2 separate regions of the Homo sapiens genome follow, and region 1 is linked to region 2. Evidence: promoter capture Hi-C in human tissues and cell types (Jung and others, 2019). All regions are on one chromosome and are shown on one strand. Each heading gives the region's core, a stretch centred on a gene start or on the middle of the fragment in contact. The rest is flanking DNA. Distances are from core to core; before and after follow the strand shown. Region 1 overlaps NRG2 (neuregulin 2). Region 2 holds the start of PSD2 (pleckstrin and Sec7 domain containing 2).

The links. Contacts are between HindIII fragments. The study calls those that stand out against the background at their distance.
Region 1: a contact is called between a fragment that was not itself captured here and the fragment with the promoter of PSD2 in region 2, in 3 of the 25 tissues and cell types used here (adrenal gland, bladder and heart left ventricle).

What each region holds. Positions count from the first base shown.
Region 1 is chr5:139,884,177-139,890,422 of GRCh38, forward strand. It overlaps NRG2 (neuregulin 2), which reads right to left. Exons shown (of 10, transcript NM_004883.3): 2 at 3,164-3,335. Among named protein-coding and RNA genes, the nearest start is that of PSD2, 91 kb to the left of the region's middle. The HindIII fragment of the contact is 4,447 bases long and covers 599-5,045 here.
Region 2 is chr5:139,793,236-139,799,438 of GRCh38, forward strand. It overlaps PSD2 (pleckstrin and Sec7 domain containing 2), which reads left to right and starts at 2,573. Exons shown (of 15, transcript NM_032289.4): 1 at 2,573-2,740. RefSeq lists a silencer at 2,092-2,291. The HindIII fragment of the contact is 20,038 bases long and covers 1-6,203 here.

The DNA.
Region 1 (6,246 bases), core at 1,572-4,071, 91 kb after region 2:
TGCTGGAAGGAGAGACAGATCCCTCTACAAAGCAATGAAGCCATGTCTAAGGCACCATGGGAGGAGACAATGAGAGCTGCCTAGAGGGCTTAGGAAGGTGTCCCAGAGAGAAGACAGTTAAGCTGGGCCTTGGAGAGCCTTGCCAGGGACAAGTGAGGGGAGGAGGGCTGCCAGCATAGGGAACAGCCTGGGCCCAAGTCCAGAGCCATGAAAGGAAAGACCAGCGGCCGAGAGTGTGGCAGTGTGAGGAAACTGCATGGCAGTGACTTGTAGGCCAGGAAGAGGAGTCGGAAGAGCCCCAAGGCTGTACCTGGCATGCAGTAGGCTCTCAAGCTCTGTCTTGAATGGATGATTGAATACATGTTCCTGTTAGAAAGATCATTTCCCGTCAGACACTCATGGGGGTCAGTGACTCTGTGGACCTCTAGAATTACAAACAAACTGGGTACATAAGCCACATTTTTTTTTCCTGAAGAAAAGGACAAGGTGTCTACCAGATTCTATAGTAGAAGCTAGACTAGAGACTCATGAAGGTAAGTTTTGTTTTGTTCACTGACATATCTTGAGCCTCTAGCAGAGTGCCTGGCACATAGTTGATACTCAATACAGATATTTTAGATTCAGAAATGAATTCTCAGAGGGGCCTGTGGTCCAGAAAAGGTGGGGAGTGGCCAAGAGTGGGACAGAGGAGGAAGGCTCGAGGCAGGGAGGCCAGATAAGAAATGTGCAGGAGGAGGGAAAGAGGCACGACCCCCTGGGCAGACGACAAAGGGTCAGGGGTTGAGCAGCAGAGAGTCTGGTTGAGCCACAGTTGAGAGGGGAACACATGAGGGAGAGAAAGGACTACAGCAGGCAGGGGAGAGGCCAGATTGGGCCTTCAGAATCAGAAATGTCTGTGAGGCATCTCAGGTGTGGTATCTAGTGTCTCTCTGGCAGCATGGGTCTGGAGCTCAGGTAAAAAAGCCATTGTGTCTGGATATGGAGACTTGGGGTCTCAGATTCTTAAAGCAACAGGAGAAGGTGAAATCACCCACAGGCGGAAAGGGAGGAAAGAAAATAGTGAGGCCCAAAGCTCAGGAAAGTTCCAGCATTGATGGCAACTAAGAGACAGTGTCCAGACTCACAGCAAGACTAGGAGGAGCACCACAGGGCCCGGGGAGCAGGTATTCCCAGGCCGAGGCCGCTGAGAGGCCTGGAGGCCTGAGCCAGGAAGTGCAAAGATAACTGCGGTTTCTCCAGGACCACAGCCATCGAGAGGTTGGGATGTAACTGAAGGGCAGATTCCAGCAGGTCAAAGAGTGAGTGGAGGACGAGAGTGCGCAGTCAGTGGGCATGAGGCTAGCTCCCTCAGTGACTTCATATGGTGGTGGAGGGCGGAAGTGAGATGGGGCAACCGCTGGAGGGCCAGGGGAGCAGCAGCGTGGAGGGACAGCATTTGAGAAAAAAAGTCACGGGCGTGGGTTTGTTGGTAGGGAGAGAAAGCTGAAGTTACCAGAGAAAGGAGTGAGTTGGTGGTACCAGGGCTCTGTGGGTGTGTGTGTGTGGTGGGGGGGAATGTGCGGGAGGGAGGGTGAGTATGAGTGTGTGGCACCAGGTAGGGTGGGATGATGATAGGCAGGTTGTAGACATGTTTGGGAGCCATGAGGAGGGAAAGGGGGGCTCTCCTGACTTTCGTCACTGCAGTGAAGTAGGGGAGAAACCATCTTCTAGAAAGAAAGGATAGGAGGGAGACGGGACCCAACTGCCCCAGCTCCAAGAAGCCTGCCCATTCTCTCCAGCTTGGAAGCAGCCTTGGTAGGGCAGTGAGAAGGGGTGGGGTGGTCTCGGAAGGTGGGCTGGGTGGGCAGCCAGAGCTTCTTGCCAATGCTGTAGACAAGGGACATATAGAACCCCCCACTCGCCACTGGCCATGGCAAGTTCCTTAGGAAGCGGCATTCTTTCAGCCACAAACCTTTGATCTAAGCCAAACTCTTCCTTAATTACATTCTGTTTTCTGCCAGGATCATTTTCTTGAGTGATCAGTTTTACTTCTGCTCCCCATTCTTGGAAGGAGAATCAGAGAACTGGAAGTAACTCCCAGTCCCCTGACTCCTTTAACCTCTTTTACAGGTTCCAGAGTCTGAGGGCCAGAGGCAGGGCATGGACATCCAGCCCCACATGGCAAACCCAAGCAGCCTGCCCAGCCCTGGCCTTCTACCACTTTTTGTTGTGGGCAGGCTGGTGTGCTCTAAAACCATCCTAATTTGCATTTTGTGTGTGTGGTGGGGCGGTGAGGAGGAAAATGACAGCCAGGAAAGGAGTGGTTGTAAGCTACTCTGGGAGGGAGGGTAGAAAAGGTTTGGGAGCTCCTCAGTCAGAGAGGGAAGGCCACTAGGTCCCCGGAGCCAACAGAGCAGACATCAGGTAGAATGCCTGTTTAGCTGGCAGGCAGGGGTTTTCCCCCTTGCTTCTCCTTGAGAGGCAGCAGAGAGGTGGTGGGCTGCCTTGGACTAGCGGCTTCTCTGGTGCCAGAAGCCCCCTGCCTGACCCAGCCAAGATGGAAGACAGGCCATCTCCCATAGCCTAGAGACTCAGGGAACTTCTCTGATTCACTTCCCTGGAGCACTGATTCAGGATTAAAGACAATTCTCAACTTTTAGGGGGAAACCGTCTGAGGAACAGAGTTCTCCAACACCAATCAAAGTGTTGCTCCCTTTTCCCTTACCTAGCTCTCTGACAACTGACAGCTTGCTAAGCTGAGAAACCAGCCCATCATGTGTGACCTCCCAGAGGCATTCTGGAGTCAGGGTCTTTCACCAAAGATTGCCAAATGTTGGGGCTTTCAGACGCTACAGCAGGTTTTTCAAGAAGTTTTAGAGATGAGCAGGGTCTTCCACTGATCAAGCTGACTGTGACAGTCAAATTGCCTTCAACTATCCAGAGAAGTTAAAGGCTTAATTCTTGTCTGTGGTCTGCAAGACCCTGGGCCACCATGACCAGAGGGTCCCCGAGCTGCAGGAAGAAGGCTGGGAGTGGCAAGGAAGGGGAGTATGGAGAGGGGCTGGGACTGGTTCCATGGGTGAGTCTGGGGGCACAGCCCTGGCCTCTGCCCAGTTCAGGCCACTCCTTCTCGAGAGGAGGGAGGGCAGCTGCTTGGATGGAGGACAGGCTGGATATTGCTTACCTGCCGTTGCCATATTTGATGCGAATGTCTCGGCTGCGGTTGAGCTCCTTGCCATCCTTGAACCAACGGTAGGAAGGCTGGGGATTACCGGCTGCTGCCTCACACTTCAGCGATTGCTTCTCACCCACCTGTCCCGTCTGGCTCTTCATCTTCTTCAACTTGGGCCGGGTGGCTGTGGGTTACAAGGCAGGTAGGTGAGCACGGTGGTGGTAGGGGCAGTGCCAAGCATGAGTAGTGGAGAGTAAGGGCCACTGTCTTTGGGCTGGAACTGGGGAAGGGAAGGGTGATCCTGAGAGCCACCCCTCCTAGTGTCATTTCCTAGTTCAATTCAATAAGCATTTATAATGAGTCTGTGATGACATCAATGTAGTTATAACTTATGGAGAGTTTCCTTCATGCCTTGAATGGTATGAAGCTTTACATTAGCTTATGAAACCTTCACAGTAACCCCATGAGCTCACAGCAATGGTTAAACCCACTTACAGATGGGGAAACAGAGGCTCGGAATGGTGAAGTCACTTCCCTAAGGGCAGATGATGGAACTGGGATTCAAACACAGATCTCCTTGACATCAGTGCTCAGGATCTAAAATCATGGGTAACAAGCCATGGGGCTGTACTGGTGGGCTCAGGCCCAATCACGGATGCAAAGCTGCAAATGCCAAGCTGAGAGGCTGTCCCCATTTTTCTTAAACGCCATTCTATTTCCGCATGCCCCAGTCTCCCATGCTTCACTTCCTTGCTCCTCTCCCCACCACCAAAATACAAAACAAAACAACACACACACACACACACACACACCCTGAAAGAGAAAGTACTCTCTTCTCAGGAAGATGAGGCTAAGCCAGTGCTCGTGCTGAGGTGTATAACAATTTCCAGTGGGATAGTCCCTTACAGGATACACAAAGCCTTCATGCAGGCTCTCGTTTGGTCCCTGACCTCTGTGAGGCAGTGTCATACTGACACTGATGGTGCAGATGAGACTCAGAGAGGTGAAGAAACTTGCCTGAAGCCACATAGCCAGGCAGCCACAGAGCTGGGACCAAAGCTCAGGTATCAAGATTTGCCACGTGTTAGGCTGGTAGCAGGATGGTGTCTGATTTTGTGGTCTTATTTCTCTCTGTGAGATGGTTAAAAGCCTTCCAGTAGCAGAAGGGAGGGTCTGTTGGAGCCAGGGAGTTGTCTGGGAACTGATTGGCCCTGTCTCGGCCATTGGTCCTTTCCCTAGCAACTCAGAGTGCTGACAATGGGCCAGAGCTGGCTCTGGAGAAAGGCAGGCAAGAGGGCCTGGCTAGAACAGGGGTCCCCTCATTGAACTTCACCCTGAGCTGCTGCATATACGCAGGGAGTAGATGAGAGGGGCACAGGGCACAGAGGAAGCACAGAAAGGAAGACTTTAAAAATGTATGACGTAGGCTTACACAATGATTCTCGTAAAATAATTTTGTTCATTTTAGAAAATGAAAAAATACAGAGGAGTGAAAAAAGAAGAAAACAAAACCTTCCTTTGTCTCCATACTCATAAATAACACCTCCCCCCATTTTTAAACAAAATGGAATCAATGCCATTTGTGGATAATAATAACAATAATAGCTAACCTTTGTTAAATGCTCTCTATGTGCCAGGCTCTATGTATTCTTTCATTTAATGAAACAGTGTAACCCTTTCGCCTGGGTGTTAAATATTAATAATAGCATTTCCCAAAGTGTATTCTATAAGCAGGAGTATCTGGAGAGATGAAAACAGATATTACTTGACAAGAGGGTTCCATGGGAAAATGGGTTTGGAGAGCATGTGGGTTAAGCATAGTTAAAGAAGTATCTATCAACTTCAGTATCGTTCTCTAAGTGGGGGCCTTGAAACCTTTTTTCTTGGAACTCTTGGTAGCATTTCAAGGAAATGAAAGTTATGTGGAACAAATTCTATGACTTATATGTGTATTTGTTTGTGTATATATATATTTCAACAATGATTCCATTGAATATATATATATAAACATATATTTTGACAGATATTAACATGATTCAAAATTCAAGAAGTGAAAAGAGGTATATGGATTAAAAAACAAGTCTCTCTCTAACTTCTGGCCACAACCACACAGTTGTCTTTCTAGGAGATAATCAATCTTATGGGTTCCTTTGACCTCCTTTCAGAAATATTTTATGCATATACAAATCCCGCACCCCCGAGTATTCACACACTCAGTTTTTCTTACAGCATCATTTTTCATGGTTGCATAATGTTCCTGTATGGGTGTATCATAACTTATGTAACTGATTCCTGTGTGGAACATTTAGCATGCCCCCTCCCCCTTCCCATTACAAACAACCCCAAAAGAACATCCTTGCAGCTTTATCTTTGCACACACCCCATGTATACTGCTGTATGGGGGAGGATGGCTCTAGACTCAGGCTGTCTGGCTTTCAATCCAGACTTTGCTACTTGTTAGATTTGTGTCCAAGAATTAACTTCATTCGTTTGCGCCTCAACTTCCACAGCTGTAAAATACAGGAGATAAATAATAGCTCTTACCTCTTGGGATGATGGCTGTGAGGATTATATGAGACAATGCATGTAGAGCCTGGCACATAGAGAGCATTTAACAAAGGTTAGCTATTATTATTATTATTCACAATTATTTCCTAAGGCGATCTTCCTAAAAGTGGAATTGCTGCGTCAGAAGGTATGCAATCTTTCTCAGCTTTGTACATTGCCAAATTGCCCTTTGGAAAGGTTGCACCAATTTGCGCTCCCCCCAGTGAATGACAGTGCCTGTTTTTTCCACACACTCACCAACACGAGGTATTATCATGTCTTTAATCTTTGCCAATTAGCTAGGCAAAAGATAACGTCTCTTTGTCATTTTAATTTGCATTTATTTGATTACTGATGAGGCTGAACATTTTTCATGAGTGTATTGGCCCATTGTATTTCTTCTTTTTGAATTGCCTGTTCATGCATGCAGTCTGTTTTCCTATCGAGTGCTCATCCTAGTGATTTGTAAGAACTTTTTATAAATATTAAGGCTATTAACCTTTTGCTACAAAGTTTTTTCCCCTCAGTTACCTGCTTTTTTTATATTG
Region 2 (6,203 bases), core at 1,323-3,822:
TCCCAGCCTGACCCTGCTGTCTTTCAGGAGGCGAAGGTAGCCACAAGGAACAGTAACAATACTCCCCTCTCCAGTGTCCATGGCACCCAGAACACTCACACAGAGCTCACCTGTGGCCTCCAGGCAGCCCTCTGAGCCCTAGGGAGCTAGTTCCACTTGACGGAGGGGAAAGGAAGGTTCAGGAAAGGGTACAGCTGCCCATAGCCACACAGCTAGGAAGTGTGGGTTGGGGGGACTGGACTAGAACCCGGGTCTCCTTGCCCCTGCCACAGGCTCCCAGAGCTACAAAGGACAGGGGGCAGATCCAGGGGGCAGAGACTAGGTTCTGTGTGCCAGCCCAGCGCAAGTTAGCTGGAGAGACAGCTATGTCTACCTTTCCCCTTTCCCTGTTCTTTCCTTCCACATAATTTATTAAGCCATGCTGAGTGTTAGGTGCTGAGGATACACTGTGAACCCTTTCAAGGGGCTCAGAGTCCATCCAGTGGACAACAATTAAATAGTGCATTCCATGAGTAAGTAATCATTACAGCTGGAACAGCCATGGCCCATTGAGTGCATCTGTGTGCCAGGTCTTGAGCACATCAGCTCTTTCGGTCCCCATCCTAGCCTCACAAAGAGGGGGACTGCTACCATCCTCATTGGGCAGATGAGGAAGTAGGAGCCCAGAAAGGTGGTCCAGCTGTGACTTGAGGGCATGGGTGCCAAGGGTGGGGAATGTGGTATCTAAGCCCTGCCATGAGCACTTCCCTCCACAGCCCCTGCTGGTCGCCACCCTTCTCTGCCTACAGGTAGCAGAGGGCAGGGGGGTAGAATGCAGGACAGCAGGGAAGCCAAGCTCCCTCTGTGCCCTTTAAGATCCTGGGCACCTGCACAGAGAGTGGCTCCCTTGTTTCTGGGCTCTGCGGTAATGTCCTAGGGTTTGATGGGCAGTGAAGGATGTGGTCTGAGTGCCCTCTTAATTGACCAGCTGTGCTCACAGATTCAGATCTCCTGGGATCATGAGCAAGTGACTTATGCTCTCCAAGTCTCAGTTTTCTCATCTGTAAAACGGGTTGTAGGATTGTTTTGAGAATTAAATATGACACATGAAGAGCACTTGGTAGATGCTTGGTTGTCAGAGGTGTCACCATGGTTGATGAAGTCCCAGCTCCTGCTGTTGCCCAGCTTGAAGGGAGGGAGACTACGCACAGCTCAGATTCCACACCTCCAATTACTGCCACCCTAAGAGGTCAGCAAATCCTCTTCCTGCTCCCTAAGAAGAGTCCATGTTTGTGTGTTCATGGGTGGAAAGAAGGTCAGAGAAGACTTCATGAAGGAAGGGGCATTTAAGGAGGAATTTGAGGGTTCAGTAGGAGTTCACTGAGCACAGCAGGATCAAGGCCCCACCGGGCAGAGTGTGGATCATCTGCTGAGGTCTGGAGATGGAAGCAACTGGGTGTGGTGAACCCCCCAGGGGCTGGAGTAGGGGAGAGGGGTAGAAAGTGGCCTCCAGTGGCAGGGCCTGACTCTATCCTGATTTCCCTTCTCCCAGGCACTGGGCCTGCTCCCCACGCCCTCCTTAGATCCCTGTGGGTGGGGGCCCTTTAATGCCTCTCTGAGAGGCGGACTCTTACTCTGCAGGTGCCTCACAGCCAGGAAGTTCTTAATGTCTAGCCCAGGTACAGCCAGTCAACCCTCTTCTTCAGTTAGAGTCCTGGGCTGAGGGGGGCGGCTTCAGGGCCTTGACTTGCCCTTGGGGAGACACCGTGGGACAGGTGCCTTGGGAGATGGTTTCCTCTGCCCAGGGCACCCTCTGTCTCTCTCTGTCTCCTTATATCTGCCCAGGGAGGCTTCCCCTTGACCTGGCACAGGGATGTGGATTCTTGGTTGGACCCACCCCTCACCTCCCGCCTCCCTCAGGTTCTTTCTCCTTTGTCTCTTTCTCCTCTCTCCTGCCTCCTCCCATCCCACTCTGTCCCGAGGCTCCTTCTCACCCCACAGCCCAGGTCTCCGTCCCGTCCCGTGTGACTCTAGGTCTCAGGGGCTCAGTCTCCCTCTCTGAGATTCTTCACCTTGGCCCCCCGCACTCCCTGCTCCTCCCTTGGCGGCGTCTCCCGGGGGCTGGCGTGTGTGTCGGGGGGCTGGGGGCAGGGGTCACTCCCTGAACAGACCGCGGGAGGAGGGCCAGGACCCGCCCCCTCCTTCACCTCCAGGGCCTGGCGGGTCCCGAGAGCTCAGGTTCTAGACCGGTGGGTCCTGCCTGGAGGGCGGAGGTGGTTGGGTCTGCCCGAGGGTTCGAGGACGGCAGGGGCCCAGCGTGGCTAGGAGGGGGCAGAACCCCGGGCGCTCCCCTCCCCCCCTTTCTTAAAGGGCCCGCGCGGGGCAGAGGGGGACAAGGTGGGCCGCGCTCTCCCCGGCACGCTCGGGGTCCCGGGGCGAGCGCTGCGCTGCAAGCGGACAGGGCTGGGGGCCGCGCTTCCCTCCGGGCTCCGCGCCCGCCGCTCGCGCGCCCGCAGTGCCCCCGCCCTTCCCCGCCCTTCCCGCTCCTCCCTCCTCCTCCTCCTCCAGCTCACGGCTCCGCTCCCTCCCTCCTGCCGTCCGTCCCCCTCGCTCAGCCTCTCCACATCGCGGCTCCGGCACCTGAAGGGACGCGGGCGGGCGCGGGCAGCTCCGACCGGCGGCGGCGGGGCGGGACAGGCAGCCCGGCGGCCTCCGATGGCCCCGCCGTGAGAGGCCGGACCCGCGGCGGGGACCAGCAGCGGTGAGTGGGGCCGCGGGGCTCCGGGACCCGCCCCTCCCCGCTGGCGGCCAGGCCGGGGCGGGACGGGCCGGGGAGAGGGCCGCGTGCGGGTGGGGGGCGTCGCCCTCGCCCTCGGTGCCCACCCGGGTCCGCTAACAAAGCTACATTTCCAGATCAATTCCGCGGCGTCTGGAGCATCCGAAGGATACGGTTGTCATGGAGATGGGGCCGAGAGAGGAAGCCCGGGCTGGCCGGGTCTGGGCCGGGGAGAGGGGGCGCCGCGGGAAAGCCCGAGCCCAGCCTGAGGGACGGTGGGGGCTGCCGGGCCGATTGTCTCCCGGCTCCGCCACCCACTACCCTCTCCCCGCTTTTGTATAATCTGGGGGTACGCGTGTGCGTGGGGGGTGCCAGTGGCAGCCTGGTGGTCGGGGATCGGGGCATTGGGTACCGGGGCCTGCCGGCAGCCACCTTCACGAGGCTGCAGCTTTGAGGATTTATTTCTGTTTCCAGTTTCCCAACTTTGACAGCCCTGCTTGGCGGCCAGGCCTCCCCGGCTCTGCAGCTAGAGCGGGGGCTCGCACGGGGGCGTGGCAGTCAGGGCTGAGGAGGCACATAATGGCCGAGGCGGCAGCGGGAGGGAGGGGTCCCAGGAGCGGGCTGCTGGGGCTGGGTGCAGAGGGAGTCCAGACTGGGGACAACCCTGCCCAGCGGGCCCCCTCGGAGGAGGAGGTATTCAGCTGTTCCTAGAGGATGCAGGGACTCCCCGGAATGATCACTGGGGGCATTGTTTTTGCATAGGCCCAGGGGGCCACTGTCTCAAGCCCACCCCTTTGTCTTGGGGCCATCTTGGGGGGGCCAGGAAGAGAACAGGGAGCAGAAGCAGCAGTCACAATGGAAGAGGGCCTAAGACTCCTGGCAGCCTGGGGATAAGCCAGGCTGAATTTGATGGGGATCAGCGAGAGGGCTCAGGATTTGGCCAGGGCAGGTGGGCAGCCTGGGTTTGGACTTTCCTGGGTTCCCCAGTTCCTTTTTCTAGATCCTACAAACAAGAGCTGCTTAATAGTGGTTGGGGGTGGGGGGGTTCACTGGGCTGGGACTGCCTCCAAACCCAACCCGTGGCCCAGGGCAGTTGCAGTCGTTCTTTCATTCTTCCACCCTCTCCCCAGGACTTTAGGAACCTGTCTCCCAGGGAAGCTACAAGTTCTGGGGCCTGGGATCTCCGAATCAGTAAAATGTGCCTGCTGTCCTCCCAGCAGCCCCTTTCCCCAATATATGCGGGAAGCAGGGAACAGGGGCTTTTGAGTGGGGCTACTGCAAAGTTTGGTCCTGGTGGAAACATAGCAGGTCCCTAGGGTTTGGCCAGAGCCCCCAAAAGATTCCCACGCAGTGGGGTGAGTAGGTGGGTGTGGCCCAGCTAAAGGAGGATGACTGGGTTGTCCTTGGAAGGCCTCCCTCACTGGTGCCTCTTGCAAGGTTGAAGTCTCAATGCTTGGGTGAATTGCACCCTGCAGCCCAGGGATGCCCCCAGAGGCCTCCCCGCTGCAGCTTGTCCTGGTCTGACAACTATGGGGTGCACGCTCCACAAGCAGACCTGACAAATAGTGCCTCCCAGGGTCTTCCCTGAAGGGAGAGAGCAAAGATAGCTGGAAGGAATGACTTCCTGCTCTAGACAGGACTGAGAGAGAGAGTGTGGCTGGGGGGTATTACCTCACCTAGCTTCCACATATGGAGCATATGTGCTAAGTACCCTCATAACAGTCTTTAGAGGGAGGCACTACCCTTATTCCCATTTTGTGGTAGAGCTGTTTGTTCAAAGTCTCCTGGTTAGTAAGTGGCAGAGTGAGGATTTGCACTTGGCCAGAACTGTCTGATACTCAGACCTGTGTCCCCATCCTCTCCTCTTCTTCCCTGGAGACACAATTTAGGAGAGAGGTGGGAGGTGGGATAGAGTGTCTCTCCATCTGGGCAAGAGGGTGACCTTGGGAAAAACAAGCACTAAGCTGTAGTTTCCTAGGGAGGTGGGATCAAGGCATTCCCATTCCGGACGTTGGCTTGCAGGAGATCAACACTGCCTCTCACAACAGACGATGCTCTAGACCTCCTTTGCCAGATGGTCTTTTCCAGGAAAATCTGTTTTGAGCGGCATCTTATGTCTGAGGCTCCGTATTTAGACTGGCTCTCCAAACAGGAGGATACACTTAGGCTGTCGCCCCTTGAGGGGTGTTTGGGGGAGTTGGGTGGGCTTGGGGCCAGACCTGGCTCCTTGCCACAGCTCAATGGAGGGGGAGGGGCCCATGTTCCTGCCCTGGTCTCCCTGGGACCAGCTTGTTTTCCTTGTCCCTCTAAGCCGGCTTGCCCACAGGTGAGTCCGTTTCCTCAGGGTCTGGCCCCCTTTTCAGGTGGTAAGCCACTCCAGCGCTGTGCCTGCCTGGCCTGGGCTGGCCTGTGGGCTGGCCCACAGCTCTGCATGCTCAGGTTTGTGGACTGCCCTGGGGAAGGAATGTCCTCTCCTCTGACTCCTGCCCCAAAATTCCAACCCCTGAGCTCCCCTCTTTGGAACGTCTCCCTCCACTCCCTTCCTTCTCCCACCTTACTTTTTATCTTGTCAAAGCTGATAGTATAGTGAACACCCACCTACATACCCTTCACCTAGAGACCTAGATTTGCCAGTTGTTAACATTTTGCCACATTTGTTTCTCTCTCTCTCTCTTTCTCTCTCTCTCTCAATCTTTTGAAAGTAAGTTGCCAACATTATAACACTTCACCTCTAAATACTTCAGCATGAATTTCCTGAGACAGGGACATTTTTCTACAAAAATAATGCATTGTTATCATACCCAAGAAGTTTAGTAATCATCCAGTTTAACCTAACATGTAGTCCATATTTAAATTTCTCTAGTTGTCTCAGTAAAGTCCTTTATAGCTGTTTTTTTTAATTTGATCATGGAACATACATTGCATTTAGTTATTATGGCTCTTTAGTGTTTCAATCTGGATGAATCCCTGGCTTTTTTGAGATTTTTTTTAATGACATTGTCAATTTGGAAGGCTTGTGATACGTCTCACATCCTGGATTTGTCTTCTTGCTTGCTTGTGATTAGAGTCAAGTTAACCATTTTGGGGCAAGAATATCTCATAGATGATGTCATGTCCTTCTCAGTGCATGATATTGGCAGGCACCTGTTATTAGTTTGTCCTGTAGTAGGTGGTGGTAAGTTAGGTCACTTGGCTCAGGGGTCCCTGTATTTCAATTCTGTTCCTCCCCCTTCCCTACCTCCAGAAGCTTCATCTACCTGGTAATCTGCGCACCAGGTCAGCAAATCTGACTGAACCCCTACATCAGACCAGATGCTGGAGAATAGAGAAGCAGACAGAAACTTTCAGGGAGCTCAAAACTTCAGGGTTGGGAGTGGGGGAGCCACAACTCAGACAGGTGCTGTTGGTGGGGGAGAGGGGAAGCCCAGAGAAAGTAGTGAGAGGCACA